Regions from separate parts of the Homo sapiens genome. Here region 1 is linked to region 2. Evidence: promoter capture Hi-C in 16 types of primary human blood cells and fetal thymus (Javierre and others, 2016). All regions are on one chromosome and are shown on one strand. The core of a region is centred on a gene start or on the middle of the fragment in contact, and the rest is flanking DNA. Distances in the headings are between cores, read along the strand shown. Region 1 holds the start of PLK4 (polo like kinase 4). Region 2 holds the start of PGRMC2 (progesterone receptor membrane component 2).

What was found. Contacts are between HindIII fragments. The CHiCAGO score rates a contact against its expected background, and 5 or more counts as called.
Region 1: the fragment with the promoter of PLK4 here is called in contact with the fragment with the promoter of PGRMC2 in region 2 in 10 of 17 cell types (fetal thymus, non-activated CD4 T cells, naive B cells and 7 more); the score reaches 26.3 in fetal thymus.

What each region holds. Positions count from the first base shown.
Region 1 is chr4:127,878,529-127,882,213 of GRCh38, forward strand. PLK4 (polo like kinase 4) reads left to right here and starts at 2,365. Exons shown (of 16, transcript NM_014264.5): 1 at 2,365-2,636; 2 at 3,303-3,398. The coding sequence starts at 2,607. RefSeq lists an enhancer at 2,449-2,688. The HindIII fragment of the contact is 5,077 bases long and covers 1,342-3,685 here.
Region 2 is chr4:128,286,218-128,289,598 of GRCh38, forward strand. It overlaps PGRMC2 (progesterone receptor membrane component 2), which reads right to left and starts at 1,596. Exons shown (of 3, transcript NM_006320.6): 1 at 1,156-1,596. The coding sequence starts at 1,573. RefSeq lists silencers at 1,236-1,295, 1,476-1,525, 1,536-1,715, 2,036-2,225, 2,597-2,891. The HindIII fragment of the contact is 4,970 bases long and covers 52-3,381 here.

The DNA of each region.
Region 1 (3,685 bases), core at 1,115-3,614, 410 kb before region 2:
GCCCAGGCTGTGGTGCAGTGGCATGAACCTGGCACACTGCAGCCTTTGCCACCCAGGCTCAAGTGATCTTTCCACCTCAGCTTCCTGAGTGGCTGGGACCACAGGTGCAAGTCACCTCCCCTGGCTAATTTTTGTATTTTTTGTAGAGACTGTGTTTCCACTATTTTGCCCAGGCTGATCTGGAACTCCTGGGCTCAAGCGATCTGCTTGCCTCAACTTCCCAAAGTGCTGGGATCACAGACTTGAGCCACCACACCAGGCGGGGCTCATCTTTTTGGCAAAATTGTTTCTAATACATATGGAAAGAGAACAATTATCATTTTGTAACTATCATAGTAAAGACTAGTTTAGGAAAAATCAATAATACTGCTAAATTGTGAGAGAGGGGTTTGCTGAGGAGCAGAATATTTGCAGGAAATTCAAGTGTCTCCCCCATAGATTGCTTATTAGTTGCAAGTAGAAAACCAGCAATTTATACAGTGGAGAAACTGGGATCAAATTAACATCACTAATGAGAGACAAACAATATCACGTGCCTCCAAATGTGGTCTCTTGGAAAGAATATAACCTCATGTATGTAATATTACAATCAGGAATACATAACCTGAATCTAATCATGAGGAAACACGAGACAAACCCAAAGTAGGGAAGATTCTGTAAAATAACTGGCCCTTAACACACACACACACACACACACACACTCCTAAGAGTGGTGACAATGTGTTAATTTGATTGTTGTAATCATTTCACAATGTATATGAAATCATCATGCTGTACAACTTGAATAAATACAATTTTTGTCAACTATACCTCAGTAATACTGGAATGAACAAATGAACGAATGATAAATAATTGGCCTGCACTCTTCAAAAATCTCAATGTCACAAAAATACAAATGCTGAGGAACTCTTCCATATTAAAGGAAATTAAAAAGATATGGTAACTAAATACGGTATGTGATCCTGTACTAGATCTATACTGGAAGGAAAAAATGTTAAATAAAGACATTACTGGAACAATTGACAAATCGGAATATGAACTGTAGATTAGATTAAATATAAATATTGTATCAATGCTAAATATCCTTAATTTGATAAACATACAAGAGGATACCCTGGTTCTTAAGAAATTCACACTTTAGAAATAAGGGGTATAAGAGCATAGTGTATGTAACCTATTTTAGAATGATTCATAAAATACAAATAATAGGCTTATTTATATATTTATACATGTATATTACACATGAAGAATAGTAAAAACAAGTGTGGCAAAATGTTAAGAATTGGTTAATCTGAGTAAAGGACAACAGGAGTTCTCTATTATTTTTACAACTTTTCTGTAAGCTTAAAATTATTTGAAACTAAAAAGTTTAAAAAAAAAAATGGGCCGGGCATGGAGGCTCACGCCTGTATTCCTAGCACTTTGGGAAGCCGACGCAGGCGGATCACCTGAGGTCAGGAGTTCGAGACCAGCCTGGCCAACATGGTGAAACCCCGTCTCTACTAAAAATACAAAAATTAGCCAGTCGTGGTGGCGCGTACCTGTAAATCCCAGCTACCCGGGAGACTGAGGAAGGAGAATCGCTGGAACCCAGGAGATGGAGGCTGCAGTGAGCCGAGATCGAGTCACTGCACTCCAGCCTGGGCGACAGAGCGAGACTCCATCTCAAAAGAAAAAAGAAAAAGAAAAAGAAATACACACTAACATCAAGGAAAAGAGCTTTCACTTAATAACAGAAGATCTAAGTTTGTGCGCTACTTCTGTTTGTTAAATATCCTTCCTTAAGCATCACACTTTTCTCACCTGCAAAACACCATCCCAAACTTACAGAGGTCTCTTTTGATCCATACAAATTATGTGTATGAGAGATCTAACTGTAAATTATTATACAAATGACATTATAATATTAAATACTTAGGAGTTTGCCAAAATAAAGAATGGAGTTCGTTTTCTTAAGGTACCGTACACATTAACTACAGTTATAACAAACTACGGAATAAGCGGTAGTGGTGTAAACGGTGTTCCTTAAAGGAAGGTAATGTTTTTTGCCCTGTTCCGTCAAGTCTTAAACGCTTGACATTTTAAAATAGTTTTAAACCCTTTCCGGAATTAGAAGTGGTATTTCGGACCGTGAAGTAACCGATCAGCCATAAGTGTCCCATCTTTAAGGCCTGCTCTTTTACCCGTCTTGCAGAAGTTCTTCCGAGAGTGGGCCCGAGACAGCCTCCCGCCCGAACTAAACTCTCCGCAGCGCTTCCGGCCCTTGGCCCCGAAGTCTAGAACCCTGGGCCGGCCGCAAAGGAAGGTCTGCCGCGCATGCGCGCCCCGGCGCAGCCTATCCGGAGCGATCCATCTCGTTACGTCACCACCAGCCTAGCTCGGACGGCAAGCGGCGGGAGATTTTCAAAATGGGAGCCCAGAGGCACCGCCCAGGCCTCGGAAGGTGTCAGGGAGAACTTTCCGTGGTTTCAGCGTCGTCGCCTGGAGCGGCGGTTTAGAGAGCCGAGCCTGATGGGCGCCAAGGCCGGCTGGCTGCTTGGAGCGCTGCCTCGAAGGGACTGCGTGAAGGAAGCTAATCCGGAGAACCCAGGCCAGAGCCTGGAAATATGGCGACCTGCATCGGGGAGAAGATCGAGGTGAAAAGACTCGGCAGTCTGCAGCGGGGCGGGTGGGAGTAATTGTGGGAGGACACGAGACCGCTGTGGGAAGGGGAGCGAACGAAGCTAACGGCTGCGGGGCGGGCACCGAGGTGCTTAGGGAGGGTCCCAACGGCCCAGACCCCTGCTGTTTAGGGGCGGAGCGGCCCGCCCCTCAAGAGACAAGAGTAGGGAAGGCGGGACAGGTGAGTCCCTCCCCGCCCGGCAGTGTCCCGAGGCACTGCGGCTTTCTTTCAGCAATCCCGCCCGAGCTACCGCGTTAGAGCAGGGCAGGGCTACCTCCCACTTCTCCAAGGGGATGGCGGTTATCTCCGGCGGGAGCTGCGGCGGGATTCTGACCGAGCCCTCCGCTCCCGGGGATTGGCTGGAGATGGGAGGAGGGCGCTTAGGCTGCACTGAGGTTGAGGAACCAGATCACTAGGGTGCACCATCACCCTGAGCTTCCAGTCCAGCCTGGAAGCGCAGGTATCCCCGCACGGAGTCAACATGCCTTCCACCCTAGACACCTGCTGCATCGAGGTGTAATACCCGCTTGAATTTTGTCAAATTCCCCACTCGATCCATTTTATCTTCTTTTTCCAGCCCCTTCCCATCTTCCTTTCTACTGTGAGTCATCACACATAATCTTTAATTTTAACTTTTAAGGATTTTAAAGTTGGAAATCTGCTTGGTAAAGGATCATTTGCTGGTGTCTACAGAGCTGAGTCCATTCACACTGGTTTGGAAGTTGCAATCAAAATGGTAAGAATAAACTAATCAACTTCTCTCCTGTACTTTGCAAGTAACTAGAGAGGTATCAGAGATGTCAGAAACTCCTTGTCTACTAGCCTTTCCTTTGATTATAGTGTAAGGAACACTTTACATAGGCAGAAGACAATAGTGCCAAGTCCAGCCGTTGAACTTAAAAATATTTTAGGAAAGCCTTGACCTTGCTTAAGTAAGTTTTATCTTCATTAATGTTCAGTAGACCTCGTATGTGGTGTAATTATCCATACTTGGAGTAATGAGTAGAAATCAACTAACAAATA
Region 2 (3,381 bases), core at 346-2,845:
AGGTCTCTAATTTAATTATTTATTCTTATTGTAGTCACCACTTTTTTTTAAAGCTTAGTATTAATCAGTGCACAACCAGGATGCACAATGTTGCTCAACTGTATGATATACCAACAGGTTCCATGAGTCTGGGGTTTATTAACATAATCCAAAATGTATGCTACAACCACACTGTAAAAAAAGGGCGTCTAAATCAACTACCCTACACAAAGTTCCCTGAAAACAAAGTTCTCTCAAAACAAAGTTCTAAAAATCTTTAACTTGCATAACTGGCACATGGGGGTATAAATCTACAACTCTTCTAAGTTTTTTCTCCTTAGTTCTGCTAAGTGAAAACACAAGTCATTATCAACGTGTACTTGAAAAGAGAAAAAAAAAGAAAAAAGAAACCAGAGACACGCCTGCTGGGTATAGGAGCTCCACCCCCAAAACTCAAGGTGAATATCCTTACCAGTCTTTAATAAGCTCTGCATTCTGGTCTGTTCTCATCCCACATACCTTGTTAATCATGGAAAGCAACTCCGAACTAAAACTGGTTTAAAGAGAGTCCGAGGTGTTGCTTATACGTCTGGACTTCAGAGACTGGAGGGTTGGGACTTTACATGCCCCTAAACGTGGCCTTACGGAGTAATACAGCGAGGGAAAAAAGGAGATCAGTGGCAAAAAAAAAAAAAAAGGGGGCAAGGAAAAGAAAACGGTGAATTACAGAGCCCAAAACTTTAGTTTAGGTCCCAACTTCAGAAATCTCCCTTCCCTGGTGCCCCATCCATCCCAGGAATCAGGAGACTCAAAAAAGGTTAAGGGCCAGCGTTGACCTGTGACAACTAAAACGATTTTGAAAAATCCAGCCAAAGAAACAAAAAAAAAAGGCTGCGAGGAGAAATGGGATGGAAGAAAGATGAATGCTGAGAGCTGGTCTCTGGGGCGCCACCGGGGACCCTGGTTTCGGGGGAAGAACTGGAGGTGCCCGTAGCTGCGGGGGGACGGTGTGTGTGTAGGGGCGGGATGGGCCGTCCCAGGTGCGGCGGCCGAGGCGCGGGGGTCCCGGAGACGAGAAGGCTGGGCAAACTAACCCGGTGCCCAGAGGCCTCCCTGTCCGAAGGGGGTTGTGCTTCAGCTGCAGGGGGTCCTTCCCCTCCCCTTCCAACTCCTCACCCGGGCCGTAGAACTTGCTGCCTTTGGTCACGTCGAAGACTTTCCCATTGACCGCGAGCAGGATGCGCGGGTTGCGGGAGCCGTCGTACTGGCGCAGCTGCTCCAAGCTGAAGTCCCGCTTCTTCATGCGAGGCAGAGAGGTGGCGGGGCTCTCCTCGCCCGCCCCGGCCCCGGCCCCCAGACCCCGCCGCCCCCAGCGCACCCACAGCCGGTAGGCCCCCAGCAGCACCAGAGCCACCAGCGCCACGTTCAGCAGCATTTCCCCGCCCCCCGTCAGAAGCGCCAACGCCGCCGCCGCCCAGCCTCCCCCTTCCGCTGCCGCTCCCGCGTCGCCTGGACTCTCGCTGCCGCCGTCGTTGCTGCTCTCGCTGCCACTCCCCAGGGTGCCTAGCTTCACGTCCCCATCACCAGCCGCCATCACTGCCCGCCAGCGCCTTCCTCCTCCTCCCCGCCCCCTGCCCTCCCCAACCCCACGGCCGGCCCCGCCCATCTGGGGGCCTCTCAGCCAATAACGTGAGAAGAGGGGGCGGGGTCAGGCCGGCTCCTGATTGGGTGTTGACGGGGTAACGTTGTCTCGGATCTCCCGCCCCCTCCCTTCTTTCGCTGGCCGCGCACGCGTGCAACGCCCCGCCCACCTCGCCCCACACTTCCCTGCTCTCACTCCAAGCCTCCGCTAGGTTAAGTAGACGAGCCGGGCGGGTCTGAAGAAAAGATGCTACGACGGCCGCGCGGACGCTCATGGGCGGGGCGAGACCACAGCGCGTGCGCGGGCTCCTGAGCGCCACGCGCTCGCCTTTCGTTCGTAACCCCTGCGGGAGGCACGCCCCGCCCAGTCTCCAGGCTCTGCGCGTGCGCCCTGGAATCGCTTCCCTTCCTAGGCCTGCGTTCGCGTCCGCAAACTCCCGCCTCCTTGCGCTCCCCCCGCCCGGGAGCTTCACGTGCGCCTTGGCGGCCGCGGGGGCAGGTCCGGGCTGGACGCCTGGCGGAGGACGCGGGCAGGTGGCTTGTGGGAGGCTGGGGCATAGTTGAGCTGCAAGGCGCAAACCGATGAGGGGCGTCTGCTTTTCACCAGGGCGCCGTCGCTTTTGTCGGGAAACCGGCAGCGTAGGCGCGCAGACCGGGAAGCGGCAAGAAGATTTGGCCACGAGCTGGGGTCTTCCTGGAACGGAGAGAAAGCACGGAACCCGCACCGGGCTTCTCTGGCATCGGCAGTCTACGTGCTCCTCGCGCTGGCACCGAGCAGCCACTCCCCGCTGGGTTTGGCAAAGGCTGCTCTTGTAGAATTTTAAAGGATTTAGAGTCTCATTATTCCTTGAATCATAACTTCTGCGGCCGTAGGGAAGTGGACAGGTTGAGGTGGTCTTTCTATTCGTCATTCACTCTTATTTGCAGGTTCTGTTTCATGTACTTGGACGTCTTTTAGCCTCTCACACCTTGAAATTCTAGTGTGAAAAAGTGACCTCTGAAGTCTCACGCACTCAACTCGTTTGACGAACTCGTTTGACGTGTTCTCTCTTGCCCTTTGTTGTCTGTTGTCTTGAGTCTCATAGAATAGGTTTGAACCTTTCACTGTCGGTTTTGTAGGAGTCACTGAGGATATTGACGAGGCAAGTGACAGGGTCGACACTCTTGTAGAGAGGCTGTATAGCAACCAGGTGTCTGAAGGATTAGAGGCTGGGGAAAGAGTGGGAAAGCAGTTAGTAGGCTAGGGTATTTGTGCGTGAGGTGAGGAGACTCAGAGCTAGGGGAGACATTAGAGCAGGGGTTGGCAAACATTTTTTGTAAAGGGCCCGATCATATTTTAAGTCTCTGCCTTAACTACTCAGCTCTACCTTGTAACGAGAAAGCAGCCATAGACAATACTTGAATGAGTGTAGCTGTCTTCAGTAAAACTATGGACATTGAATTTTTAATATAATTTCAGGTATGAAATATTCTTTTGATTTTTAAGAAAATCATTGAAATATGTAAATTTTTTTTTTTTTAGTTCTGGAGAGGTGCAAAAACAACTTATAAGCCATATTGCTGAGCCCTGCATTAGAGGTACCTGAGGGAGAGCGACACAATTGGTAGTAAATGACCATATACTCTATCCTTCAATATGGAACACTTTTGGAAGTAAAGTAGGGCATTAATAATTATAGCCAGAGACCAGGAGTTATATCAGTTTTATCCCAGGCAAACCTAAAGGAATAGTCACCTTAAGGTTAAGGGTTAGGAGAAGTC